7 separate regions of the Homo sapiens genome follow, and regions 1, 2, 3, 4, 5 and 6 are each linked to region 7. Evidence: promoter capture Hi-C in 16 types of primary human blood cells and fetal thymus (Javierre and others, 2016). All regions are on one chromosome and are shown on one strand. The core of a region is centred on a gene start or on the middle of the fragment in contact, and the rest is flanking DNA. Distances in the headings are between cores, read along the strand shown. Region 1 overlaps MKX (mohawk homeobox). Region 2 overlaps RAB18 (RAB18, member RAS oncogene family). Region 3 has its middle 35 kb from the start of PTCHD3. Region 4 has its middle 13 kb from the start of RAB18. Region 5 has its middle 26 kb from the start of LINC02673. Region 6 overlaps RAB18 (RAB18, member RAS oncogene family). Region 7 holds the start of MPP7 (MAGUK p55 scaffold protein 7).

Region 1 (4,399 bases), core at 217-2,716, 570 kb after region 7:
AACGGTTCTTTTTTATTGCATGAAGTAACTTCATTTTTATAATACTATAAATGACCAAAGGAATGATGGCCATTTCCTCTTGTTTATAGATATACCATGTGTCAGAATAACATATTCAGTGAAATTCATTAAAATTAAAATACCATAAGCGAGAGATGACATAAATATTTGCTTTCATTGCCTAAAAATTGATCTTGACTATCAAAGATAATTTTATATACTTTAAATATATTTCCTTTATATATTTTTAAGGATTAAATATAAGAGTTGGGTGGCTGGGGGAAAGTATGCATACCACCCTACTTAGTGATACTGTTCCACTTTAGATGGAGAAAATCCTCCAAGAACCCACATGAACGAAGGGGGCTATAATACCCCAGTTCACCATCCTGTGATTAAAAGTGAGAATTCGGTCATCAAAGCGGGAGTGAGGCCAGAGTCACGGGCCAGTGAGGACTACGTGGCACCCCCCAAATACAAGAGCAGCTTGTTGAACCGTTACCTTAATGACTCTTTGAGACATGTCATGGCCACGAACACTACCATGATGGGAAAAACAAGGCAAAGAAACCACTCGGGATCTTTTAGCTCCAATGAATTTGAGGAAGAATTAGTGTCTCCATCGTCATCAGAAACTGAAGGCAACTTTGTCTATCGCACAGGTAAGTCCGTGCTTTCTGTAGTAATTCCTGCGATACCTGTTTAAAGCACAATTAAAACTGCATCAGAGGGATTTATTTTAACAGGTATAAAGACATCAGATTATTCACATATTGCCCATAATTCAGTTTTAAAGCTTTCGTTTTGTTTAGAATTGCCAATGGATACATTTGTTAGTAGATTATGGTCTTACTGAGAAATTTTCAGTTTTCATATTAAAGACAGGAAGTTTTATTCTTTTTATATTTTTTAATTTTAATTTTTTAATATTTTCATTTTGTTTTTATACAAAAATTAACTCAAGATGGAAGAATTTTCATTCTTTATAATAATTTTAATCTTCAGAATAACAATGTTTAGGGGGGTGTATACTGGCTTTTATGAATAATTTATAATAGAGGATAGTGCCGGATTGTGGCCAGTCCTGCAAATACTTTGTATTTTATCTTTTCTGTTAAATGCTTTGATTGCTAAATAGTGATGGTAAATGAAAACAAATTAATAGGGTGTCAAGCTTTTGTGAAAGAAAGGTATAGGTCTGGCTTCCATTGCTCTGGAAATTTTACTCTCATTCCTGAAAAGCATAAGCAGGGATGAAAAATAGCTTTTAAAATTTTACTTTCCTTCCAGAAATAAAGGATCGATTCCTACCTGTCCAAAACTTTCAGATGGAGTAGTAGGTTTGGTAAAAATTTCTATCTTGACTTCAGTTCCCAGAGAGGTTTGCTCTTAAGAAGTGTATGAGGTGACTTTGGAACAAGGAATATGCATGACCAACATCTGGTGTAGACAGAGTCTGGGTCCTGAAAATGTCAGCAAATGAGATTTAGAATATTAGAGCTGGAAATAACCTCAGAAAACATCTAGACCAGGCACATTACATCACAGATAAGAAAACCCAGACCAAGAACACATAGTAGGTACTCTCCTCCAGATCTCTGAATCTGCACAAGAGATAGGAAGAACATCACTACTATAATCACTATTATTATCCCTACTACTACCAATCATGTATAGAGTAGTTATGGTATACTAGGCCCTATGATATAAACTATACACATTTTACTACATCTTTTCTTCATAATATCAAGAAGCTTGGTCCATGAACAGTAGGGCTTTATTAAGAAATCTAAAGTTGCTCTGTTAATGTACCCTTTAGATCATTTCACCAGCAATCTGATTTTCAAACGTTTACAAATATATATGAGACAAATGATCTACAAAGATTCAGAGAAAATATCAATACATTTCTAAAGACTTAAATCAACCTCATTTTCTCTTTGCATCACCAACTCCAACAATAAAAACAAACTCCAAACACTCAAAATTACAGAAATTGTCTTGTAAATAATAATTGGGTCTAGGAAGAAGAAAAAATAAAAGAAAATTTGGCCAATAATGAAAATGAAGCTGGGCAAGGTGGCTCACAACTGTAATCCCAACACTTTGGGAGGCAGAGGCAAGAGGATTCCTTGAACCCAGGAGTTTGAGACAAGCCTGGGCAATATGGTGAGACCCCCATTGCTACAAATTTTTTTTTTAATTACCCATGCATGGTGGTGCATACCTGCAGTCCCATCTACTTGGGAGGCTGAGGTGGGAGGACCGCTTGAGCCCAGGAGATCAAGGCTGCAGTGAGCCGTGATCATGCCACTGCACACCAGCCTGAGGAACAGAGGGAGACCCTGTTGCAAAAGAAAATGAAGACACTACATATTAACATCTGACTGTTGTGACCAGAGAAGAGCTTGAAAGTAATTCAGAGTTTTATGAATGTTTATTTTTAGAGACAGGGAAAGAAATCACATTGTTCAAACAGATAATTGAAAAATAAAATAAAATAAAAAAAGGTCAAATGGGAAGCTGAAAAATAAATAAGAGTTGACTCTTTTAAAACAATAATAAATTAAACAAGCAAAAATCGACGCAAATTAAAATTGGAAATTACAAAGGAAAGAAACAACAATCAATAAACAGTTATTAAACAAAAAAGGTTTTAAAAAATTATGATGAAGTACTATGCACAGTTGTTTGGCAATATACTATATGTAAATGTGTATTTAAATAAATTGGCATTCTCCACACAAATTAAAAGTTCATAAACAAGAAAAGTTTTAAATGGCCAATAACTAGGGAAAAATTAAGATTTTTAGTCAATCCAATTCCCAAAACACATGACTTAATACATCCATTTCTTTTCAAACTTTGAAGAAGTAATTAATGCTCGTGTTTTATACATTTTTCTGGAACATATAAAAAGTATCAATTTTAAAAAAAATGTAAACGTTATCCTACTCTCAAATCAGATTAAGACTGCATAAAAGTCAAGATCTTTCTTTATAATACTGATACTATGAAAATACTTGAGAAATATTTATAATGTAATATTGAAAAACAATTCAAAATTGTGGAAACACTATAATACAGTTATGACAGTACAAATGTGCATAGGCAAATAAAAAAAAATGACAAATACATTAATTTTAATGAGACAGAGTAATTGGTAATCTTTTATTTTAAAATATTTTTCTTATAAAATTTTTAACATTGCCTGGTAAAAACATAGATTAGATGCCTACGCAATTTTCCCAGTGTGGTGAGTCTTCTGAAAATGCATGTTCTTTTCAAAAGTGACAAAATATAAAGCCAGAGTGAATAGCATGCCTGTAGAGTTGATTCTTTTCAAAGTTAAATATCTCGGTGGCTTGTTTTTATTAAAGCATTCCAAAGGCACTTGGTCCATAGTATGGACTATTCATTTGCCAAATTCTATTTTTAAATAAAAGCCTATTTTTTTTTTTTAGTTATGCAAGCAATGAGAAAGCAACCTAGACATGTAAACTTCTGGTTTTACATGCGTGTGCACCAACTTAAAAAGGGCAGACTAAATGATTTGTTTTTATGGTTGGAGAATTAAGAAAGGCTGGTGGCCTAAGACTGATCTGCTAGGTTTCAGGTCAAAACAATCAATGGCTGTCTTTGGTGGGAATTGAGTGACAGTGTTGCTGCAATCGTAGCTGGGTTACCAGGCATGTATAAATAGTAAAACAGGGGATTTCAAGAAATACTTTCTGAGCAACTGCTATGGTTTTCTCTGGCATATAACCTTCTTCTGAATTCTTTCAATTCCATCTGGTTATATCTTTCTTTCCTCACCTAAATAGAAATTTTCTAAGTCTGTATTAACACCCCCTCCCCCAGTGCTACAGTAGTACAAAGATTTTGAACTTTCAAATTTTTTAAAAGAACACTTTACAATTTATTTGTTTTTGTTACAATTTATTGCTGAGGAACTTTTCTTTTTTCCTTTTTTTTTTTTTTTTTGAGATGGAGTCTTGCTCTGTCGCTCAGGCTGGAGTGCAGTGGCACGATCTCGGTTCACTGCAACCTCCACCTCCCAAGTTCAAGCAATTCTCCTGCCTCAGCCTCCTGAGTAGTTGGGATTACAGGTGCGTGCCACCACATTGGGCTAATTTTTTGTATTTTTAGTAGAGACGGGGTTTCACCGTGTTAGCCAGGATGGTCTCGATCTCCTGACCTAGTGATCTGCCAGGCTCAGCCTCCCAAAGTGCTGGGATTACAGGCGTGAGCCACCGCGCCCGGCTGCCAAGGAACTTTATCCAATTATTCATCCATTTTTGTTAGAGTAGCTGTCTTGTGATGAGTTTTATTAAATATATGGAATCAAATAGCCAATTGAGGCCGGGCATGGTGACTCACACCTGTAATCCCTGCACTT
Region 2 (4,102 bases), core at 1,519-4,018, 770 kb after region 7:
TATAATGTTTTATTTCCTTCATAGCACTACTTACTTATTTAAGTCTGTCTCCCTTACTAGAATGTAAGCTCCATGTGGGCAGAAAGTTTGTCAGTTTTGTCCACTGTTACATCTTGAGTGTTCAATAAATATTGGGTAAACTAATGTATGGAAATGAGGGACATACAGCAAGTAAAAGTACTCGATTCCTTTCTGAAAATCTCAATACTTTCCACTAATTCCATTCTGTTTTTATCTATATATGAAGTCCTCTCAACTTCATTTGCAGATTCCTGGTAGCTTCTAACGCCATGGAATGGTTAAATCCGTAATTCCTAAAGCTGGCTTCACATCAGAATCAACTAGAGTGCTTTCAATAAACTGCCTTTCAAACCTGTAATAAGGCACAGGGCCCAGGTGATTCTGACATAGCTCATCCAATTTTCTAGATGAGGGGTTGGCAAACTCTTTCTGTAAAGGGCCAGATAGAAAATATTTAGGCTTCGTGGGCCGTATGGCCTCTGTTGTAACTACTAAACTCTGCCATATGGCACAAAAGCAGCTACAGACAACATGTAAACACATGGACATGGCTGTGTACCAATACAAATGGTGGGGCCAGATTTGGACCAGGCTGTAGTTTGGCAACTCTTGCTGGACCATGTTTCTCAAAAATTAATGTGCATACAAACCATATGAAGAGCTTGTTAAAATGCAGATTCTAATTCAGAAAATCTGGGGTAGGGCCTGAGCTGAAGCACTGCTAACAAGCTCCCAGGTGGTGCTGATGGTATCAGCATATGGACCAGCAAGGCATAACTTTAGCACTGGGTGCCAAACTTTACTGAATGCCACTATATCCTGTGAGGAATGATTTGACTGTTTTTTAATATGATTTCACATAATATGATCATACATTTTACAGGAAGAAGAATAAAGAACCTTGTTATATAGTTAGATTTTGTAACACAAGGCAACTAGGAACAATACTCTAAACACATTTTATGGTTCATAAAGAAATAAACTTGGCAAAAACTCCATTCAAAAATTCCTCATTAATAATGAAAGGACAGATATTCATTCACACACCTACCTATAAATAACATGGAATGCTTTCGTGCAAATTTCAGGCCTTCATTTCTATCGACTTCACGATTTTCCTAAAATATAAATGCAATGATTAAGAAAGGCTACCAAAATATAGAACCAAAATGCCAAGTGTCTGCCTTCTTACCTTATCGATTTTATTTCCAACTAGCATGTTTACTATGTCATTTCTTGTACAGTATGTTTCCAATTCATTTAACCAATTATCCAGTTTAACAAATGTATCTCTTCTTGTGACATCATAAACTGAAATAAAAGGAGTCATTTGTTAAATAAGCATTAAAGAAAGAAGCAATGGCGTATTTCTGATATGTAGCTAGGAGTTAGCATTACTAAGCAATATAGACAAGTCTTTTTTTTATTGTCTTCAACGATTAATATTGAGTGTCTACTGATCCAAATGGAAGAAACAAGTGTTTTTTTTTTAAAGCATACACATTTCAATCCTATTAACATATACTGTCACAGAAATGAAATTATATCCTGTGTAATAAGTGAAAACACATTTAATACCCATTAAAGCAAAACAACAGCTATTCCCATTCATAATGATGAATGAGGTCTATCCAAAAACCAGAGTGTTTAGATTCAAATCTGTGGCAAAATATTAAAAAAAAAATACATGAATGTAAACATCTATGACCCCATTAATTTGTTTATTACAAGAACCAAAATTTACAGCTTTGAAAAAATTGTAGTACAGTTAGTAGATGGGTTCCTGGTGGTCTTCCTGTTATCACTTTCATCTTATGTCATTCTGCATTATAACAAAAACCTTATTAAAGTGTTTTATAAACTCAAGAGATGCTGAACCAAAAGGCTGTCACTACCAAGCCATAATATTTAAAAAAAGAGAATTCTACCTATTAATACAATTGATCAATATTCATTTTAAACAGTTTCCCAGGAATATCAAGAACAAGCACTTTTCAACAAATTACACTGAGAATCCACATCTGGTTTCTAAATTTTGTTTGATTATAAATCAATAGTGTTAAGTGCTTTGTGATATTTTTAGGACTAATAAAGCAGATTCTACTAATCAACAAATACTTTTCGTCCTTTATAAACTACAGCAAATATTAATATGCTGATAACAGAAGCCCAGTTTCTGTAATACTCCAAGACAGTCCAACATATGCTGATTAATCCTCAATTACGTTCTCATTGACATGTGTTTTCAAACCAAATAAATTAGCCTTGTCTATTTTTTAAGTGCTAGACAAGACTAAAATCAAAAGTTTTAATATTCATTAATATTACATGAAGTTAATACAACTACAAGTTACATAAAAGTAGCTCTAACGAGAAGTAAAACAAAGACATATTAACTTTCACAGACTAGGACAATCAGAAACTCCAATAAATATTTTTAAATAGTACATTAAAGTAAACACTTACCTAATATAACACCCTGTGCACCTCTATAATAGCTGGGAGTTAATGTTCTAAACCTCTCTTGACCAGCAGTATCCTAAAAATGATCATTATTATTAAATTAAACAAAGTATAAATAGACCTTCAATATACTAGTTTAAGAGTAGAAAGTCAAACAGCATTACTAAAAATAGTATTAATGCATGAGCTCATTAAAAAACTGGAACTTAAATAAGATGTGTTCGCTTACTGACAAGTGTCACAAAATAAAATTATTTATAAATACTGATCTCTAGAAAAATGAAACTATGTAAAGGTTTTCTGCTGTTTTGAATTTAAGACTTTTATCATACATGAAATGAAACCCATGGTTCTAAACTCCAGCTGCACAATGAAATTTTCTGGGAATCTTGAGTCTAGCTTCCAAAAAATTTCTGCTTAATTGGTCTAAGGTAATGACAGGAATTTTTTTTTTTTTAAATCTTACCAGGTGCTTTTAATGTAGAATCAAGGCTGAGAACCACTGATTTGAAGAAAATTATGGGATGTCTTACTTTAGGTAACAGATTTTTAGGTTGGGCTCTTTTAAGTGTTTTCTATGTATCTCCTTTTGAGAAAATGCATATAACCAAGCCATTCTTTATTACATGTTATTTCTGACTCATGTTAGGGTTAGTGAACAATGTACACTAGGTAGAAAATGTAAATTTCATAAAGCAGGGACTCATCTGTTTAATCACCAGTTTAACCATTGTGCTGAGACCAATTCTTGAAAAAAGGCAGTTGCTCAGAATTTGTTGAGAAAAAAAAAAAAGAATGAACCTATTTAACAAGCCTTTACTTCCGGGCCCAATTCCTTCTCTCTCTTGTCTTTCTACCATCCTTGGACTATGGATTCAAGGTACCTAAGATTATACAAAGCAGCTCAGCCCACCACCTGTTTTATTAAATAAAGTTTTATTGAAACACAGCAGGCCTATTTGCTTACGTATTGCCACATGGCCCACTTCAGGATTGGACTATTTCCTATCTGGCTCTTTAAGAAAAAGTTTGCAGTCTGCTGATGCAAAGTAACCTAAAGAAAAGTAAAAGTAAAAACATGTATCAAACCTCAACTTAGCTACCAGTCCCACTGCTGTAAATGAGGGTTTGTTATGGGACAAGCAGAAGCTCCCCCAGATATAAAAATGTTAGAATAACCTGTAAGAGGTTTATAAGATTGGAGAAGAATTCAAACCAGGGGCGTGAGGGGCTTCAGCAAGACAGTAGGGAGGATCTGCAGTCATTTATAACCCCAGAAGAGAAACTTAAGAGGAAAGTAACGTTTCAATGTAAACCACTTTGAACATTCACCACTCTTCCACAGATACACTTACATAAATTTGAAAGCCTTTCCTTCCAGATCCTTACCACCACAGAAACTAATCCCCACCCTGCCATGCTTAAGTGAAGAATTAACAGATTTAAAGTAAATGTTCTGAACAGATAAATTTATAAAATAAATAATTTTTCTCTTTACAAAAATTCTCTCTGCCTCTAAGTTTCTTACAAAACCTGCCTTGGATTTTAAAATTATTCAATTTGCATATTTACTCACCTTTTCAAGAACAATAATATAAATTAAAAGCTGTTTAAAGCA
Region 3 (4,265 bases), core at 1,736-4,235, 850 kb after region 7:
TGGTGGCAGAAACCTGTAGTTCCAGTTACTCAGGAGGCTCAGATGGGAGGATAAGTTGAGCCTGGGAGATCGAGGCGCTGCAGCAAGCTACGATAGCACCACTGCACTCCAGCCTGAGTGACAGAGCGAAACCCTGTCTGTCTCAAAAAGTTCAAATGGGTTTAAAACATCTATTAGGAGACAAACTGAATTAAATTAGAAATCTTTCTACTTTAAAATAACTCATGGGTTAAAGAAGAAACATCTAATAAAATTATTAAATTTTTGAAACATTAGGACACTATACATCAAAACATGTAGAATGAAGTTAGTCTGGTATGTAAGTGAAAATTTATAGTTTTAAATGCATTTATTATAAAACAAAAAGCAGATAATATAAGAAGTTAGAAAAAGAACACAGAAAATTGGAGAAAGAAAATAAAGGCAAAGTAGAAACAGAAAGATCAAAGAATTTTAAAACAGAGTGAAACTCTAAAATTAAAACCTGTTTCTCCTGAAAAAGTAGTAAGTATAAAAAGCTTCAAAAGCTTTATTAGAGAAAGAAGACAGTAGACACAAATTTATACTAAGAATAGAAAAAGGGTCTCAAAGTACAGATAAAGAACATACGTTTAATCTTAATCAATAAAATATGACAATTAATTTGAAAACAAATGACATAAATGCATTTTTAGAAAAATATAAATTACCAAAGTTGGCTGAAGAAGAAATAAAAAACCTGATTTGCCCTATACTATCAAAGAAATTGAACTGGTTGTTAAAATTTCCCATTCCTTACAGAGACAGGTTTTAGACCATTAAAAAAAAAAAAATTCCATTCCTTAAAGGCACTAGACCCTGATAATTCCACAGAAGAGATTGAGCAATCTTTCAAGTAACAGGTTGTCCTTATCTTATAAAAACTCTTGTGGAAAATAAAAAGGAGAAGTGAGGCAACTTTTTAATAACATTGTTACTTACCCACATTAAATAATAAAATAAAATTGTAGGCCAATCTCACCTAAAAACATGGATGCAGAAATGCTATATAAACTATTAGTAAATTGAATCCACATTGTATTTTCACATATAGGGTTTTCTAGCATCCTTCGAGGTCAGAAAACATAATAACACCATTTACCAAATACACAGATTGAAGGAGGAAATCATATGATCTTCCCAATGTATCACACAGATGATCTGATAAAATTTAACTCATTCATGATTAAAAGAAAAAAATTGTAGAAAATTTTCCTTACCTTGATAAATGTATAAAACAAACAAAAAACCCACCTTAATCTTAATGTTGAAAATATTTCAAATAATAACAGCTAACAAACACATAGCCCTTATTGAATTTCACATGTTTGAAATAATTTCACATTTTAAATAACTTGGTCTTGGTAACAACCTCATGAGCTACATATCCTCTTCTCCATTTGATAGTTGGAGAAATTGCAAGAGAGTGAGATTCCGTAACTTGCCTCAAGTCATAGAAATAGGAAGAGGTACATCTGAGATTTGAACACCTTGGCCCGAGTCCATGTTTTTAACCAGGATGTCATAAAACCTTGGAGCACATCCCAAACCTCTGAATTCCCATTGCCCATGGGAATGAACTCAGGTATCTCCTGGATTTGGGCTCCCTCTGGGAACATCACTCTGGTTTCCTCTCTGAGATTTCTTCAGATTCTAGTCACTCTCCGTGATTTACCTTTTATATAGTTCAATCTCAAAGAGCAGTCGAGTCTAATTTATCTTATTTTCCTTTTTGTATGTTGAGTGTGGCTTTCAAGATCTCATTTGTCCTTTTCTGCCTAGTTTGAGCTTCAAAACTGTAACACTTCTATTAAAGAAATCTCTATTTTTCGTTACCTTAAGCAGTCCCCAGTTTGTCTTCTGCTGATTCCTGGGGCATCTTTTTTTTTTTTTTTGGTATCACTATACTACAGGAAATTAAAGATTCATTTCATTGTATAAAAAGGAATTTAATGAAAGTCAAAAACAATGTAAATGCTTCTAAGAGTTTTACAATCAGCATTGTGAACCTCACCACCAAGTCAATAGGAGCCTGCATTCTCTTGCTTCCAAGCAAGCAAATCCCAAATGCATGTGTCATACTTGCTAATGCCCTACTAGACCAAGCGTCACATGGCCAAGCCAGAGCCAATGTGGGAGGGAACCACAAAAGGTCATATATGTTGGGATCCATGATTCAGTGGAGGCCATCAATGAGTCTACCACCTGCCCATAACATTATATGCATTTTAACAATATGCTTCCCCTGTATTCATAGACTATATTCATGGTCATTTCCTGCTGCTGTGGACTTTAGTTCCTCCTTCAGTTTCTTTCGTAATTGTTCACATATCAGTTTTAGATCCTCTCCTCAATATCTGATACAACTTACTGAATCTTTAGATTTTTTAACCTATAAAAAGAAAATTGAGTGATTTTATAATGTTCTGTGGCAGACTATTATAAAAGTGAAGAAAAATTTTTATAGGAGATTTTATATCATTTAAATTCCCAACAAGAAAGGAAGGGAGAAAAAGCTGAAGATGGGGCAGACGAGAAGATGCAAAGACAACTTGTATTTCCGTTAGAACAGAGGCATCTGAACAGATCCTAGAAGACCTATTTATCACAGAATCCATTTCAGCCATTATACGTGCCATATTTTGTTTGTTTGTTTGTTTTTATAAACAGAGATGGGGTTTCACCATGTTGCCCAGGGTAGTCTCGAATTCCTGAGCTCAAGCGATCCACCCACCTTGGCCTCCCAAAGTGCTGGGATTACAGGTATGAACCACCATGACTGGCCTATACCCGCCTATTTTAATTATATAATTTCAGGAGCTATGGGAAAGCAAGCAGCAACAGCTAAGTAGTGAGAATAGGGGATACTGACATAAGAAAACATTCTTATCTTTGCAACTGATGCCTTTACCCTCACCCCATCTTGGCTAACAGTGGAGTGTTCTCTAAGTACTGAATGCTGGGATGAGTAAGACACAGCCCTTGTCTCTGAGTTGCTCATAATCAAGCGTAGTGTAAGAGACAGCTAATCCATAACTAAAGTATAATTTTAAAAGAGACGTAGTTACTAGTGGGCAATTTTACTTTATTTATGTCAAGTTTGGTTTAGCTGACCTAAGGGAATGGGACTTAGATAGAGAAAGCAGGGAACAGAAAATTACGGAACACGAGGGCTGCTTGGGAAGAAATGGAGGAAAATGGAATCTGCATATGGCAGGAGATAAAGGAAGGAGAGATAACTTAGCACCAAGTGATGCTTTACTTGATTAACTTTATCTGAACTGAATATGGGTAACTAAGAGAATAAACAAGTTTTTCATTTCTAAGCTATGTTCTTGAATTACCAAATACCCTCACCCTTCTCATGCAGAAAATATTTTCTGGCCTATAGAGAAGCCCATCCTGAAAAGTGGACATCATTCCCAGATTAGAGGCCAGAAGGGTTGGCTGAAATTGAGAGGAAGAACCCGAACAGACATGTTCACCAGAAGCCATGTAGCTTCTAGGCCATGTTACGGCTGCACCCGCAGCAGAGTCTAGAGCTCTGAAACCAACAGGAAAGGGTTGCACAACTCAAACACAGCAGAGGGGCTCATAGAACATTTGGCCTGATTTTATTTTCTACACATTTTAAGAAAGCCAAATTCCTTCTATAGAATGATACAAAAAAACCAGTAAGAAAGTAACAAATGGTGGTCTTTTTCAACTGACTTACTAAACCCACACAAGCATAAGTAATCTGGATATCTGGATTACTAAAATAAAATAATCAGAATAGATCATCTAAAGTCAGGAGAGTAGATTGAACCAGATCCTGAAACATACATGTTTTACTATAAAATTTAGTACTTTGTAGTGACTGATTTGTTGAGTAATTGTAGACATTTAGTTGCTGTGTTTTGAAGGGGTAGAAAAATCTGCTGATGTGTAATAAAGAAATACCATAAGACCTGGCACGGTGGCTGGGGCCTGTAATAGCAGCACCTTGGGAGGCCAAGGCAGCAGGATTGTTTGAGTCCAGACGTTTGAGACCAGCCTGAGCTACATGGCATGACAACATCTCTAAAAAAGTTTTTTTTTTTTTTTTTAGATAGCCGGGTGTGGTAGCATGCGCCTGTAGTTCCATCTACTCTGAAGGCTGAGGAAGGAGGATCACTTGAACCCAGGAGTTGGAGGCTGTAATGAGCCATGATCATGCCACTATGCTCCAGCCTGTGTGACAGAAAGACCCTATTTCAAAAAAGAAA
Region 4 (4,155 bases), core at 1,618-4,117, 810 kb after region 7:
AATATATTTTGAAATCAGGTAGTGTGCTTCTAGCTTTGTTCTTTTTGCTCAAGAAAGCTTTGGCTATTCAGGCTCTTTTTTATCTTCACATGAACTTTAAGATTTTTTTTATTTCTGTGAAAAATGATATGGGTATTTTGATAGGGAATGCATTGAATCTGTAGATGGCTACAGAATAAAATAAAATAAACATACATTATGGAAAAGACATCCTCTTCAATAAATGGTGCTAGGAAAATTGTATATCCATATGCAGAGTAATGAAACTGGACCCTTCTCTCGCCATATACAAAAATCAACTCAAGATGGATCCCATGAGCATGGGATGTCTTGTTTGTGTCCTCTTCAATTTCTTTCATTGGTGTTTTGCAGTTTGTCTTTAGAGCTCTTTCACTTCCTTGGTTAAATCTATTCCTGGGTATTTTATTTTATTTTGTTTTATTCTGTAGCTATTAGAAATGAGTTTGTTTTCTTGACTGCTTTCTTAGCTAGTTCATAATTGGTGTGTAGAAATGCTACTGATTTGTATATGTTGATTTTTTGACCTGTAACTTTAGTGAATTTTTTAAAATCAGATCTCAGAGTTTTTGAGTGGAAAAACTAAAAATTGAACTTCTTTATGCTCCTGCAATCCCACTACTGGGTATTTATTCAGAGGAAAAGAAATCAGTATATCAAAGGGATGCCTTCACTCTTGTATTTATTGCAGCACTATTCACAATAGCAAAGATACAGAATCAACCTGTGTCCATCAACAGATAAATGAATAAAGAAACGTGGTACATGTACACAATAGAATATTACAAGCCATAAAAAAGAATGAAATCCTGTCATTTTCAGCAACGTGGATGGAAGTGGACATCATTATGTTAAGTGAAATACACCAGGCACAGAAAGACAAATATTGAATGTTCTCACCCATATGCGGGAGCTAAAAAAGTTGATCCCAAGGAGGCAGTGTAGAATGATAGATACCAGAGGCATGGAAGGCTATGTGCTGGGAGTAAGGGAGTGAATGCAGATTGGTTAATGGAACAAACATACATTTAGATAGAAGGAATAAGGTCTAATGATCAATAGTGGAGTAAGGTGAGTACAGTTAACAACAGTGTATCATATATTTCAAAATAGCTAGAAGAGACAATTTGAAATGTTCTCAAAATACAGAAATGATAATTACTCAAAATGATGGATACCTGAAATACCCTAATTCAATTATTACACATTCTATGCATGTAACAAAATATTACGTATACCCAATAAATACATATGAATATTATATATCAATAAAAAAATTTAAAACACACGCAAAGTAGCCTGAAGCAACCTGATATTAACTAATCAGTTTTTTTCTATTGTTCTTTCTCCCTGACCCAGCCTTACAAGAAAAAAAATAGCTTTGAAACGACTAATATGCTCTTTGTTCTTTGCTTCTGCTTTCTGCAGCTCTTCTCTGTCTATAAAGCCAAACTCTTCTGCTCAGCTCATCAGAACACTTATTCTGTTTTGTGGAATGAAGTTTTGCCCTATTCTGTAATTGCAATGAAGCTAACTGAAATCTTTAAATTTGTCCTACTTTTGTTCTTTGATATTTCAAAATCTGCATCATCTCAGCACTGGAATCTGCTTATTGTCTTTTTGAGTTGTCCCTGATTCTTTGTAAACTGAATAATTTTGGATTTTGAACAGTTTACATATTATGTTATGAGACTTTGAATCTTATCTAAATCCTATGTAGACTGTTTACATTTTGTTTAAGCAAGGAATGAGGAAACAAATTTCAAACTACCTTCTTCAATTTTCAACAATTTTGCAGGGCTATTGGATATATCCAATGTATGCACTACCCAATGGCCAATTTGGCATAAGAGCAGTCATCTTTGGTATGCTGGATAGGATCAGACCCAACTGTGTGAGCTTGGTAATTAGTCCAGGATAGTTACCCCTGCTATGCCATGAATGTTCATAACTGAGCCCATGTCCACGGTCATGATAGAGGCAGGAGGCAGACAAATCTATGGCAGACAGGAGCGGGTCCCAGTGAAACCCAACCTTCAAGCCAAAGACAGTCCTGGGTAAATCCTTGGACTGGATTGAGAACCTCTTTTCCCATTTGGTGTGCTTTCCTCTGATTGATTCCCGCCCTTCACCTATTTTACATATACCTACCCTTTCCTAATTGGTTTTCTGAACTGTTGTGCCCACCTTTGAGTGGTGCCTTTGTTTTAGCCTTTTTTTTTTTTCATACTCACAAACCAATCAGCACGCACTCCCCATTCTGACCCCATAAAAGCCCCAGACCCAGCCACACTGAGAGACAGACCACCAAACTTCAGGTGAAGGATCACCCTCACATCCCCCATCTGCTGAGAGCTGTTTCGTTGCTCAATAAAATTCTTCTCCACCCTCCTCACCCTTCGATTGTCAAAGTAGCCTCATTCTTCTTGGATGTGGGACAAGAACTCGGGACCCAACAAACACAGGTAAAAAGAAGGCTGTAATACTGTGGCCATCTGCCCTCTGCCATCAACCCAATTATATTGTCAAAGAAGTATCCATTTAGGAATAGGCTGCCTCTCCCTCCACCAAACCAACAATAAGCCAGTCCAGCACCATATCAAAATCTCTTGCCCTGCTCTTCTCATGTAAGGGTACTCATGGCTAGTATGCCTATAGCTCCAGGGCACAAGTAGGTGCTGGCAAATACACACCATGGAAAGTCTAGGCCCCTACCTAACTGTCCTACCTACAGCACTTGGAGAGTCAGAGCTTCTCTACTCACAGTGCCAGCTGGCTGGAATCTGCTCTATGAATCAGGCCAGCTGGCTGGATTCTGCTTCCGGCCTCATTCCTGCCAGTCCCATTGCCTGGGGGCTGTGTCCTGTTCTTTTTCTCTAGTTTTGGGATAATTCTTAGAACAACCTGGCTCTGTGTCTAATACTCCCACTGCTCCTGTTCCAAAGCATGCTTGTGTCCTTGTCTTTTAGATTAGGTTCTCCTTGATGATAAACTGAACTGAATCTGTCCATGTCTGTTAGTTTTGATCTTTTGTTGATAGGACAATTCTCCCACTTTCTGTTTACTATACTTTTTGTATCTGCCTTTTATTTTAATGCATTGACTACCATTTTAGAAAAAATAAAATAATAGTGACAATAACATGCATCACTTTTTTCTATTCCTAATTTTAATGGGAATATCTGTAGAGCTTCACCTATGGTTTGTCATTTCTCATAGCTTATTAACGCAATGTATTATGTTGGATTTTGTAATAGATTTTGTTATATTATTTTGTCCTAAGATTCATTTGGTAAGTTATTCCTTTATATACTGTTCAATTATATTTTCTGACATTTCAATAATGAGTTTGCATATGTAGACATATTCCCAAGTGAAACCAATTCATATTTCCCTTTAACTTACTGTCACTTAGATATGGGAAAGCACAGCAGGCACTGTTCTAAGATAATCATTGATATAGTGTATACGCAATTCTTTATGTAAGACTAGATATCTGTTGTTTCTTATTATCCCAGATCTGTTTCTCCTGGTTCAGTTAACACACTCCTTTTTCCTTGGGAAACCTCTCGCTTAATGTCCTTTGAAAGAAGCTGATCTCCTATCTCACCAATTCCAGAGGGTGCCCATTAAAAAGGTCCAGCCCTATCAGCTCACTCCCCGTGTGAAAATGAAGTAATTCAAGGATGGGTACATTACTCAATGGGGTGAAATTCTGGGACCCTTGCAAAAACTTTGAGAAAAGAGAAGTCCATTTTGCAAGAGATGCCAACAGGTTAAGATAGGGCCCTGGAGGTATTAGGAGCCCTCTAGCTGCTGAAAATGAAGAACCTAAATAAGAATAGCACCTAGAGAAAAGAAAGTAACTCCAAAAGCTGGAGACAGCTCCTGACACCACAACTGGATCCTCTGGATTGAGTCAGACTCACAGCCAGATACTCATAGATCTTTCTGTGACATGACCAGTGGATTCCCTTTTTAAAGAAAATTATGAAATATTTTAAACATATACATCTATAGAGAATATGAATAACCAGTTTTATCAAACGTATTAAGCATCAAACATTATGTTATTAATGTGAAGCACTAAACATTAAAGACAAGTTCAAGACCCCCCTGTGTGCTCCTCCCTGATCC
Region 5 (4,113 bases), core at 744-3,243, 930 kb after region 7:
AGACTGGGTAATTTATAAAGAAAAAGAGGTTTAATGGACTCACAGTTCCATATGGCTGGGGAGGCCTCACAATCATGGCGGAAGGTGGAAGGCACATCTAACATGGCAGCAGACAAACAGCAAATGAGAACCAAGCAAACGGGGATTCCCCTTATAAAGCCATCAGATCTCGTGAGACTTACTTCCACGAGAAGCATATGAGTGAAACCGCCCCCTTAATTAAATTATCTCCCTCCAGGCCCCTCCCACAACATGTAGGAATTATGGGAGCTACAATTCAAGATGAAATTTGGATGGGGAGAGAGCCAAACCATATCAACCTCTGAACTCAGTATATTTTATGCTTAGGCTCAGGGCTATATAAAACCTTTCTAGAATTAGATTTTGCCACATCCATTCTGATAACAGCCCTCCTAGCTTAACTTGCAGATTATTCCTTCTTCAATCTAGTTCACGTGCGCTAGGTGGGCTCTATTGCTGCCTCAGGCGTGGACCACATGTCTCAGGCCCAAGCCAGTAAGCACATCACGTTCCCCTGGCCTTGGTGCTTGCAGACACAAGAATAATTCCTAGCCTTGTAAGCAAAAGAGCTCCCTGTTTCCTACTGGGCTTACATCTTGGACTCACCTGAGCTTAGGACTGCTGCAGTCATCTTGTCATAAAGCACAGAGAGCCTAGAAGTTCCAGAAGTGATGACGAGGAGGTTGCACATGAATTCAATCCAGCGGGAGGCAGAGAGGAGAAACACAGAAAAAAAAAAAAAAAAAAAAAAAAAACACCCAAGCCCTAACGATATTGTTTGAGCCCAGAATCCAACTATACTGGCAGCAAGGCTACCTGTGGACTTTTTCAGTTAAGTGAGAAAATAAATTCCATCTTTGCCTGAAGTCTTTTGGAGCAGATGTTCTAACACCTGTAAATTAATACAGAAATAAGTATATAACAGACACGTTTAATCTGATGCCATCTCATTTCCAGGCCCCCTCCCAAACTCACCAGAGGCTAGAGTCTCAGAGCAATAAAACTGACACAGAAGGATTTCACAATTTCAAGTCACTTTAAAACCAACATCACAGAAAATGTGATCATAGAATGTTTGGCCAAATTCTATTTTGTAGGCATTTTCAGAAATGCAAATCCCATTTATGGGATAATCAAGAAAAACTACCAAGAGAGTAATTACATGCAATCTGCTTTGATTATTGGTCTTGGCCATCAAAACTCATAAATGCATTAGAAATCATATAACAAAGACAACACATATAGCCTGATCCTGAAGCATGCAAACAGATATCCAAAGTGCTTCCTGCTTTTAATTGGCTGGGTGGTGAATAGGTGTAGTCATACAGTTTTTTCCTTTTCAAGAACAAAGATCTGAGGACTTTGCATGAGAGAAGCCTCATAAAATTGCCAATATGTGGCTTTGGGTTTGAAACTTACTCTGGAACTTAACATTTGTGAAGAAATGCACTAAGCATTCGTCCTTATTCATTAGAGTCACTCCTTCCACATTGAAGTCGTGATACAGAGAATGCAAATTACAAACCTAATTGCACATATGGATTCTTACTTAATGCAATGGCCCTAGTTTTATAGTCTAGGAGTCCATATTTGAGGGAAGGTGGTAACCAAACCTCACCCAACAGCTTGTAATCTTGGAAAAATATGTAAAAAATGAAAAACACCCATATGCCAAGCTTTTAAATGGGAAATTGGTGCCATCTTGTGGTTACAAATATGTAAAAATAAAAAATTTTACCTTTTTTTTTTAGAGATGGTTTCGCTCTGTCACCTAGGCTTATGAAGTGCAGTGGCTTGATTATAGCTGTCACTGCAATTCAAACTCCTGGGCTCAAGTGATCCTCCTGCCTCAGCCTCCCAAGCAGCTAGAAATAAAGCTGCACACCACCGTGCCCGGCTAATGTATTTATTTATTTTTCGAGACAGTCTCACTGTGTTGCCCAAGTTGGTCTCGAACTCCTAGCCTCAAGTGATTCTCCTGCCTCGGCCTCCCAAATAGCTGGGACTACAGGTGCACACCACCATGCCTGGCCGAATTATTTTAAAAATTTGTATAAAAGTGGGGTCTCACTATGCTGCCCAGGTTGGTCTCCAACTCCTGGGCTCAAACAATCCTCCTGCTTTAGCCTCCCAAAGCACTGGGTTTACAGTCATGAGCCACCACACCCGGCCTCACTTTTTTCATATATTAAATAATCATTGCCAAAATCAGGCCCATTTTAAGTAATCATTTCCCTCAGTATTCTGATACACCCCAATAAAGCTTCTTTGTTTCTTCTTTAGAATATTTGTTAAAAGTGTAGACACCTTTCCTTGACAGTCAATTTCACTGCTTTTTCAGCTAGGAAACTCCGATTTCCTGTAAAAATCGTGTCCATGATTACACTTTAATTTTTGGATCAGAGGCAGGCTTTAATTCTGAAAGCTGAGACGATGCATTCATGGAAGAAAAGAAAAGAAAAAAAAAAAAAGCTCAAACCAATTTTTAGACATTAACACAGTAATCAGCGAATGTCTTGAGAGATGGCCCAGGACATTAGAAACAGCACATAACTTGACTTTCAACAGTCCCTGAAAATGCAGATTGACTTCCAGAAGACATAGTGCTCTGAGAAGAGAAGAGTCAAACACCTTCTCAGAAATTGTTGGATTGTTTAAAAAAAAAAAAAAAGCCAAGATAGGCATGAGCCAAGATGTCATCCGAAATACCTCATATTTTGTGGAACTTTTCCTACACAAATGCAAGTGGGGCTAGACTGGAGGAAGTGCCAAGGGCGGACTCACTATGAATGTCAAGTGGTGCCACGGAAAAGCCGGCCGGGCGCAGTGGCTCACGCCTGTCATCCCATCACTTTGGGAGGCTGAGGTGGGCAGATCACTTCAGATCAGGAGTTCGAGATCAGCCTGGCCAACATGGTGAAACCCTGTCTCTACTAATAATACAAAAATTAGCCGGACATGGTGGCACTCACCTGTAATTCCACTACTCAGTAGGCTGAGGCACAAGAATCGCTTGAACTTGGGAGGTGGAGACTGCAGTGAGAAGAGATCGAGCCACTGCACTCCAGCCTGGGTGACAGAGTGAGACTCTATCTCAAAAAATAAATAAATAAATAAAATTAAAAAAATAAAATTACAAATAAAATATATTTTTAAAAAAGAAAGAAAAGCAGAGAAGGCTTTCCTCTGCATTACAAAGACAGTCTGGTAAACCCATGGGCAGATCAGGTCATGAAAATTAAAGGAATTTCCCCAAAAGCAATAATGTTTGGATGGCTTGTATTTATACTAGGAGATAGGACGTCAGTCTAAATTGATATCATAATTTAAATAATTTATTTTTAAGTTTAATAACATACCTCAATATTTAATAGAAAATTCTTTATAAGAACAAAACATAAATATAGAAATTAACTGCCTGGTAGAGTTATTGATAGAAAAGATGGGAATCAAAATAGACCACGATTTAGAGCATGATTGTGGAAATGGCCACATCAAAGAGAAAGAGAGAGAAGTGAGGAATGAGAGAGTGGGGTTTGGGGAGAAGAAGTGGAAGAGAAAAAGAGAAAGTGAGAAGGTCTTATGTAAGCGTAGGGTAAACGCATGTGCCTTAGATTATATGCGGCTGAGCAGAATAAGAGAAATAATAAGGCTGGTTGCAGTGGCTCACACCTGTAATCCCAGCACTTTGGGAGGCTGAGGTAGGAGGATTGCCTGAGGCCAGGAGTTAAAGACCAGCCTGGCCAAGATGGTGAAACTCTGTCTCTACTAACAATACAGATGGTGGGAATCTGTAATCCCAGTTGCTTAGGAGGCTGAGGCAGAGAATTGCTTCAACCTGGGGGGCGGAGGTTGCAGTGAACCGAGATTGCACCACTGCACTCCAGCCTGGGCAACAGAGCGAGACTCTGTCTCAAAAAAAAATGTTTTAAAAATCAGCCAGGCATGGTGGTATGCACCTGAAGTCCCAGCTACTTGGGAGGTTGAGGCAGGAGAATCACTTGAAAAAAAGAATCGTTACCCAAAAAAAAGTTTTCTAAAAAATTAGCCTGCTGTGGTGATGCATACCTGTAGTCCTAGCTACTCAGGAGA
Region 6 (4,109 bases), core at 784-3,283, 790 kb after region 7:
TGGGTTTGTGTGTCAGTTTTTCCCTCTCTTTGTTGTTTTTAGCTAATTGCCAAGAAAGAAGAATGCTAACTTTATAGTACCATCTGCAAATCCCAAATCCAACAATTATCTTAAAAGAGTATTTTATGCAAGACAGAAACTTAAGTGTCTCACTAAGTTACTAAAAGGTAACAATACACTTTCCTTACTACTATTTTACTGTGGGGTAAAATACCAATTTTCATAAAACACTAATTTTCACAAGGCCATTAAGTAATTGTTTTTATGTTTAAAACTCATGTGTGGGCTGGGCGTGGTGGCTCACACCTGTAATCCTAGCACTTTGGGAGGCTGAGGCGGGTGGATCACTTGAGGTCAGGAGTTCAAGACCAGCCTGGCCAATATAGTAAAACCCCATCTCTACTAAAAACATAAAAATTAGCAAGGCATGGTGGCACACACCTGCAATCCCAGCTTCTTGGGAGGCTGAGGCAGAAGAATCACTTGAACCTGGGAGGCGGAGATTGCAGTGAGCTGAGATCATGCACCACTGCACTCCGGCCTGGGCAACACAGCGAGACTCTTGTCTCCAAAAAAAAAAAAAAAATATATATATATATATATGTTATTACCTAAGGCTGAAAGTAATCTGATGCTTCAATGTAAAAGATATTTTGTTCAACATATTCAAGATCTAGGGCCTATTTGGGGAACAAATTACATATATTTTCACCAGCATACTATAATCTTAGTATTTGTCTTTGCAGAAGACAAAGCCTTTTTAGTAATAAAGACAACCCACGATTTGTCATGCCACAAGTCCCCAAATTCCATTTGGGTTTGTAATGAAGACAGTTAATATTATATGTATGTTCATTCCTTCAGTAAAATTTTAACTTTAGGCAAGTTTATTTTCCTGCCAGTTGCTACTGCTCTCCTCCTGGCTAGCCAATACCAATACGTACTCAGGCAGGTTCTGACCAAAATAAGGTTTTACTACTAAGTAATTTTTTATAGGAGTAAATAATACACCAGTATGGGCACAGTGGCTCACACCTATAATCTCAACACTTTGGGAGGCCCAAGGTGGGTGGATCACTTGAGGCCAGGAGTTCAAGACCAGACTGGCCAACATAGCAAAACCCATCTCTACTAAAAATACAAAAATTAGCCAGGTGTGGTGGTGCATGCCTGTAGTCCCAGCTACACAGGAGGCTGAGGCACCAGAATCACTTGAATGGGGAGGTGGAGGCTGCAGTGAGCCAAGGTTGTGCCACTTCACTCCAGCCTGGGCAACAGAGCAAGACTGTGTCTAAAAATAAATAAATAAAATTAAATAATAATAATTATTATTATAATACAACAAAGCCAAATTACAATGGATTTTGAATTCGTGTTTTAAATGATTCCCTTTCCTATGACACAAATAAGAGTAAATCTGTAAATCTTAATATCATGCAAAAGCTAAGTAATGCCTAATTTATTGAAAATTTAGAGGCACCATGAGTTCATATGAAGAAAAAGAAACAAACAAACATGAGCTCCTCCTGAGCTGGGCATGGTGGTACATGGCTGTAGTTCCAGCTACTTGGGAGGCTGAGGCAGGAGGATCACTTGAGCCCAGGAGTCTCAGGCCAGCCTGGGCAACACAGTGAGACACTGCCTCACAAAAAAAGAAAAAAAAAGAGCTCTTACTTACAGAATTCCAAACAAGATACATAGACAGAGTGATGGCATTTTAAAAAAATCCCCATTTGATAACCATCACAGTTGGAATGAAAAGATCATATACTGTCCTTATCACTTGTCACAGGCAAGAATTATCAATGGATGCTACAACAGGAGGGCAAAAAGTGTAAGAAGGAGGATACCTATACAGTCTCAATGTATCTCTCTACAAGAAATATATTAGTTATGAAGGGAAAAATAATAACTTCACTGACACTATGTTCTGAAAAACACTTCTGTGGAATTGCTGCCAAAACTGCATAACCTGAATCTAACCGTTAAGGACATACTGGACATACACAAATTGAGAGACATTCTACAAAATAATTATTTACTCTTCAAAAATGTCAAGGCCCTGAAAAGGCAAATAAAGACTGAAGAATTGCTGATTAAAAGAGGCTGAAGAGGCTCGACGCGGTGGCTCACACCTGCAATCCCAGTACTTTGGGAGGCCGAGGTGGGTAGATCACTTGAGGTCAGGAGCTCAAGACCAGCCTGGCCAACATGGTAAACCCCGTCTCTATCAAAAATACAAAAAAAAATTAGCCAGGCGCAGTGGCATGTGCCTGTAGTCCCAGCTACTTGGGTGGCTGAGGCAGGAGGATCACTTGAACCTGAAAAGTGGAGGTTGCACTGAGCTGAGTTGGTGCCACTGCACTCAGCCTGAGCGACAGAGCTAGACTCTGTCTCGAAAATAAATTAATTCATTAATTAAATGAAATAAAAGAGGCTAAAGAGAAATAACTAAAATCAGTGTATGATCCTGGACCCGAAACAATTATTTGTCTTTTGCTATATGGGACATTAATGGGACAACTGATAAAATCTGTGTATAGACAATAAAATGTATCTATGTTCATTTAAGAAATACACATTAAAGTATGCAGACGTTGAAGACATCATGTCTACAATCTACTCTCATTTTTTTAAAAAAGAATACTGTGTGTAGAGAGAGAATGATAAAGCAAATGTGACAAACATTAACATCTGGAGTAATTTAATAGGATACATAAGAATTATTTGTGCTATTTTTACAAATCTTTGAGTCTGAAATTGTTTCACAATAAAATTTTAAAAATAGACATACAATCAATGAAAACAAATAAAGCCAGTTAACAGAAACTCTTTATTTTCCCTAACAATAATGCTAGGATCATCTTTACTATATTCTCCTCATCAGATCATGAAATTTTAACAAAACCTCCCAATTTACAGATGAAGTTAGTAAGTTAAGTGACTTCATCAAGATTACATGTAATTCAAGGCAAAGTCAACCAAGACTATTATCTAGCTCTGACTCAGCTCAGCTACCTTTCAACTATTCCAAGTGGTCTCTTCATCCCTTTACGTTGTCTGCAGTCTAAACACATGATACCAAAATACTTACCTCTATCTTCTCATATATTCTCATAAGTTAGTGTGACTAACCACTTTCAGGCGATCTAAATCTTATCCTTAAAAGGCATTTAAGTATCATTGCTCCTAACAATCCTTAATAACTAGTATCAATACATATGTGAAGATAAGAATACACGTCAAACACTGTAGCAAATGCTGAACATACAAAATTAACACACTCTGTTAGGTCCACGATGACAGAGACCAAGTTTGTTATTCACTATTATAACCCCTCCTCTTAGTAGCAGTCCCTGGCATACAATAAGTATTCAAATAACTGTTGTATATTACAAAATAAAAGACAATCCATAGTATAGGAGAGAAATGTGTGTACAGATAATCACATTAGCAGTTTTAATAAAGTATCATGAGACAACAGATAAGGAAGTTATTTTCTCTTGGTAAGATCTAGAAAGGCTTCAAAGATTTAATGATACCAAAATTAAGTCTTGAAGGACAAATAAGATTTCAACAGACATGGAGGCAGTGGGGTGGTGAGAGGAAGGTAGAAGGATTTAGATTAAAAAGGCCAAAGGCAAGAAAATACTGGCCATTTCTATAGAATTTTTAAACACAGGCTTACCTATTGTTGCTGCAAGTTCTGGATCAAACGTATCATCTGTGAACCTCAAGAGCAGGCTGAAAGAGATATTAAAAAGACAGGTTGGGAACTTGAATTTTCTAATCATATGATAAATGTGTTCATGATTATTTGGTCACAAATTATTAGATGCAGATAAAAATAACTGATGTAGGCCTGTTCCTAGGAATACTGCCTCAGAGCAGGTATACACAGAAAAATTAAATTACCAGAAAGGCAATTTAAAAATCCCAAGAGCAAAGTAGTTTACTATGAAATATATTCCCCGTGCTCTCCTACACAATCCCCCAAGTACAAAAGGTGGGGGTTTTTGTTGTAGTTGTTTTTTAACTGTTCTGGTATGTCCTTCTGAGAAAATGATATTAGCAGCATGTCATGCTTTAACTGACATAGATGAAAAGGG
Region 7 (3,950 bases), core at 53-2,552:
TTCACGGAGTTGCTGGGGGGAAGTGCTTAATTTCAAATAGCCTGTTTTAGAACTTTGCGAGAATGACAAGAACAAACAGAATGTTAAGGCAGCTAGAGAGAGTTAAGTGAGAGTGGTCCCTAGGTGAGAAATGCTTCTTGCCTTCTAGGCTGACACCAGTTCTGGGGGATGTGTTCTGAGAGCTCATATTAACTGCAGGTCATTGATCCTTATCTCAATCCCCTTCCTCTCCCTTCAGCTTTCCATTCAAAGTCTCTATCACATCTTGAAGTGTTGTCACATTATTTTTTTTCTGATGATTCCCTCCATCAGCTGAGCTTTCCAATTTATATTACCTGATTTTTTTTTGTCTTCTGCTTTTTACTACCCCTTTTTCTAAAGCTTTATTGATTGTGTACTTTGGATTCTAATTCTTCCTATAAGAGTCTTCCTGTAATTCTGTTTGCAGTGTAGTGCTGTCCACATTATGTGTTGGTTACATGATAGGAAGGAGTATGGGGGCACCTCGGTCACATATGTAAAGTTCTTTAAGAGAGCTGAAGGGCGCTGATACCAGTTCATGTTTTTTCGGGGTAGCCCTCAGATATTAAGCATGTTTACTGTATTTTCTTCTATTGTGAAAGAATCAGTTCTCTGGATTTCCTTAAAGTTTGTCTTTACCATTCTCCGCACCCTACTCATTTTTCTATTTAAGAATTTTTTTTTCTAATCATGTAGTACATGTTCAATATGGAACACAAAAAGGTAATAAGAAAAAGTCACCTACAGTGTCGCCAAAGGTGAAAACACCTTATGTCTTTTTTCGTGCATAACAATATCCCTCTCAATCTTATGCAGCATTTTTAAACCTAGGAGACTTGTCTGAATCCAAAGGAAGTTAAAGATTACGTTATTCACCAAGTTCATACTGAAATCAGAGAATCGCAGCGGCTTAAGAAAACTCGCATCTGGCGAATGAACCTGCGTATCCGGGGTTCTCCTCAGGGAGGTTGCTCGTCCATGAAACACACTCCAGTCTGCAGCCACCTGGGAGTGGGAACCAAGGGCGAGCGAACCGGGCGGGCAGGGGTGGAACTTGCGGGGACTGCGGGTATGAGGAGGAGCTACAGAGCTGTCACCAATCAGAGCCCAGCTTTGTTTTCTCTTGCCGACCAATGAGGGAGTTCTGCTGGAGAGGCGTCTTCAAGTCTGAGACGCCTATCGCCTTCGCAGCCTATCAGCAGGCCCCTCTTACCCGCGGGCGGTGCAGCCCCGCCCCGCCCCTCCAACCGCGGTCCCGCCCCTCCGAGGGTGGGGGCCGTGTTGGTTACTAGCCGGGCTGGAGGCGGGGGCCGGGCTCCCACTGGGCTCGTGCGTTCTGCGCCCGCCGCGGCGGTGCCGAGCCCGCTGGCTCCCGATTGTCCTCTGCGGCGGTGGCGGTCGCTGCCTCCTTGCCTCCGGGCCCGGGGCTGCAGGGGCCAGAGCGAGTGCGCCTCCTGCCCGCGGACCGCGGCAGCCCAGAGCAGGTAATGGGGCGCCTCTGGGGAGCGCCTGTCGGAGCCCAGGGCTAGGCTCGGGCGGTGGGGTCGGCCCCCGAAGCTGCTCCCTGCGCCGGCGACCGGGCCGAGCGGTGCCGCGGTCCTCCGGAGCCTCCTGCCGGCCTCTAGGCGCCTCAGCCTGGGAGCCCGCGGCGGGCACCTTGTGAGGAGGTGGGGGCGGGGCCGGGGCAGGGGCGGGGCCGCCTCGGGCGGGACCCTGAGGACCCCTGGAGACCCCTGTTGACGCGCGGGACTCCGGGCGGGGGCGGCGGCGGGGCAGACCCAGAGCGGGGAGAACCGACAGGTGGAGGAAAAACTGCGGAGTTGAGTCAGAGTCCGGCTCCCCGGGGAAAAGAACCGACTGAAAGGGAGCGATAAGCTGGCTGGCTTCTTTTTTTTCTTTCCCTAAGCCAGAAAGGCGTCTTCACTTGGGTCGTGTTAATTACATGTTTTCTGAGAACAGGCGTTTGGCCGTGTAATCTACACGATAGCATTATTTATTTACTTATTTGCTATTTAAAAAATTAAAAGCAGCATTTAGCGTGAATCTATTTGGGGGCTTTTTCTTAAGTGACAGGTAGACCCAGCCGAGTAACTCAGCTTTGTCTGGGCTGAAGTGGGGAGCGGTGAGGTAGGAATGAGGGGGAGGAGTGTTCGTGAGGAATGCCTGTGCAGGTTTGAAAGGATTGTGGGGGTGGGACCTTGTTTCTGTCACTGTGCCATGGGTGGGAGTAGAATTGTGATTTTTTTCTTTTTCTAATTTTTAAAAGCAATATTCACATTTAAAAAAGGGGGGGCTCTCTAAAAACAGTCTCTGTACTCGAGGCTTTGGGGATGCACCTGCTAGTCAGGCAGTAATAGTTTGCAGGTAAATCCTGGGCTATTAATTACGTAATTTGATTTACTTATAAAGAAGTATCTTGAATTGTTGCTGCCTTTCCTTTGACTTGCTCAATATATTGCTTGTTTACAAGTGAATTGATGAAGGTCACTGAGTTTTAGCGGTAATGTCACAGCGATGGCCCTTGGAGAGTTTTCTATGCTCAGGTTCACTCTGGTTCTATAAAAACAGTATTTCCATTTAATCGTGAAGCTCATAGCACTCTATCAATTATATAGTATGCCATCCTCCTACTCTTCTGAGGCAGGCTGTGCATAGCATGTCCATTTTACAGGTATGTCAACTGAAAGCCCTAGAAATGAAAGGAATCCTGCCCCACTTTACTCCTACTTTATTTTATACCTATAATGGATTTAATCCAAAATCTGGGTAAGATTCCCGCCATCAAGCCAACTTCTGCATACCAATTTGATCCCGTATACACAGGTCAGAGGTGGAGATGGTTATTTTCAAGTAAAGAAATATTATCTGCGAGGTTTTTCTTTCCATTCAGGTTGCTTAGCTAGTTTGAATTTCAGGTGAAAGGTAATTTTCCACACAGGCAAAACAAACAAAAGTTAGGAATGCTGTGTGAAAATCTCTATTTTAAATTTTGGGAAGCTTTCCAAATTAGAGAACCTTATTTGTGTTTGCATCTCTAGCTCAGCATTGAATTTCGGTACCTTTTTTTGAATTGAATAGAAATAATTGATATGCAGAAGGAAAATACTAATGAAGTGTAATGCATTTTGATCATGACTTATGACTTTGTTTCGGGAAGTGTTTACTGTAAATTTATAGACGGATTGAAGAATAATTTCTTAATTAGAATAACTTGACCAAAGGAGTTTGGGCATTAGTGTGGGACAGGCTGAAATGGGTAGTTGGGAGTAGCCGCTTGTATGATGTTAAGGCTTAGGGAATTCTAGAGAATCGTTAGGTTTTGTTAAATTTACTAGTTATCAGGAACATGAAAATGTCTTATGGATTACTGAATGGAACTCTTTTTTTTTTTTTTTCTGAGGTGGAGTCTCACTCTGTTGTCCAGGCTGGAGTGCTGTGGCTCACTGTGATCTCTGCCTCCCTGGTTCAAGTGATTCTCCTGCCTCAGCCTCTTGAGTAGCTGGGACTACAGGCGCATGCCACCACGCCCAGCTATTTTTTTTTTTTTAATATTTTTGTAGAGATGGGGTTTCACTATGTTGGCCAGGCTGGTCTCGAACTCCTGACCTCAAGTGATCTGCCTGCCTTGGCCTCCCAAAGTGCTGGGATTACAGGCGTGAGCCATTGCACCCAGCCTGAATGTAACTGTTCTAATCATGAAGTTATCTCTTGTTTTGTGGCTAATACCTCTGTTTCACATGTACATTTTAACATATTCATGTAACATATAAGGCAACTCTTCTTACACAAGGCTGTCACTCTAGCCCAGCATTTATTTACTTATTTATGTTTTAGTGGCTTTATTTAACTTTTACTCTCCTGTCAAAATTTCTAGCACCCAAGCAAAAATTTCCATAAAGGAACTTTTATCATCTGTTGATTATACAGAA

The links. Contacts are between HindIII fragments. The CHiCAGO score rates a contact against its expected background, and 5 or more counts as called.
Region 1: a fragment that was not itself captured here is called in contact with the fragment with the promoter of MPP7 in region 7 in 1 of 17 cell types (total CD8 T cells); the score reaches 7.6 in total CD8 T cells.
Region 2: a fragment that was not itself captured here is called in contact with the fragment with the promoter of MPP7 in region 7 in 3 of 17 cell types (erythroblasts, fetal thymus and M2 macrophages); the score reaches 6.6 in erythroblasts.
Region 3: a contact is called between a fragment that was not itself captured here and the fragment with the promoter of MPP7 in region 7, in 11 of 17 cell types (total B cells, monocytes, naive CD4 T cells and 8 more). The highest score is 11.1, in total B cells.
Region 4: a fragment that was not itself captured here is called in contact with the fragment with the promoter of MPP7 in region 7 in 1 of 17 cell types (fetal thymus); the score reaches 6.1 in fetal thymus.
Region 5: a contact is called between a fragment that was not itself captured here and the fragment with the promoter of MPP7 in region 7, in 2 of 17 cell types (fetal thymus and endothelial precursors). The highest score is 7.6, in fetal thymus.
Region 6: a contact is called between a fragment that was not itself captured here and the fragment with the promoter of MPP7 in region 7, in 1 of 17 cell types (fetal thymus). The highest score is 6.2, in fetal thymus.

Annotation. Positions count from the first base shown.
Region 1 is chr10:27,730,719-27,735,117 of GRCh38, reverse strand. MKX (mohawk homeobox) reads left to right here. Exons shown (of 7, transcript NM_173576.3): 5 at 327-662. Among named protein-coding and RNA genes, the nearest start is that of MKX-AS1, 12 kb to the left of the region's middle. RefSeq lists an enhancer at 1-1,015. The HindIII fragment of the contact is 580 bases long and covers 1,177-1,756 here.
Region 2 is chr10:27,530,965-27,535,066 of GRCh38, reverse strand. RAB18 (RAB18, member RAS oncogene family) reads right to left here. Exons shown (of 7, transcript NM_021252.5): 4 at 2,488-2,560; 5 at 1,214-1,332; 6 at 1,073-1,139. Among named protein-coding and RNA genes, the nearest start is that of RAB18, 29 kb to the right of the region's middle. The HindIII fragment of the contact is 5,728 bases long and covers 1-4,102 here.
Region 3 is chr10:27,447,036-27,451,300 of GRCh38, reverse strand. No RefSeq gene overlaps it. Among named protein-coding and RNA genes, the nearest start is that of PTCHD3, 35 kb to the right of the region's middle. The HindIII fragment of the contact is 4,912 bases long and covers 530-4,265 here.
Region 4 is chr10:27,489,661-27,493,815 of GRCh38, reverse strand. No RefSeq gene overlaps it. Among named protein-coding and RNA genes, the nearest start is that of RAB18, 13 kb to the left of the region's middle. The HindIII fragment of the contact is 5,616 bases long and covers 60-4,155 here.
Region 5 is chr10:27,367,634-27,371,746 of GRCh38, reverse strand. No RefSeq gene overlaps it. Among named protein-coding and RNA genes, the nearest start is that of LINC02673, 26 kb to the right of the region's middle. The HindIII fragment of the contact is 587 bases long and covers 1,700-2,286 here.
Region 6 is chr10:27,509,510-27,513,618 of GRCh38, reverse strand. It overlaps RAB18 (RAB18, member RAS oncogene family), which reads right to left. Exons shown (of 7, transcript NM_021252.5): 2 at 3,689-3,744. Among named protein-coding and RNA genes, the nearest start is that of RAB18, 7.3 kb to the right of the region's middle. The HindIII fragment of the contact is 5,210 bases long and covers 1-4,109 here.
Region 7 is chr10:28,300,416-28,304,365 of GRCh38, reverse strand. MPP7 (MAGUK p55 scaffold protein 7) reads left to right here and starts at 1,302. Exons shown (of 17, transcript NM_001318170.2): 1 at 1,302-1,505. MPP7-DT (MPP7 divergent transcript) reads right to left here and starts at 1,197. Exons shown (of 2, transcript XR_930772.3): 1 at 1-1,197. RefSeq lists a silencer at 1,116-1,755. The HindIII fragment of the contact is 2,637 bases long and covers 384-3,020 here.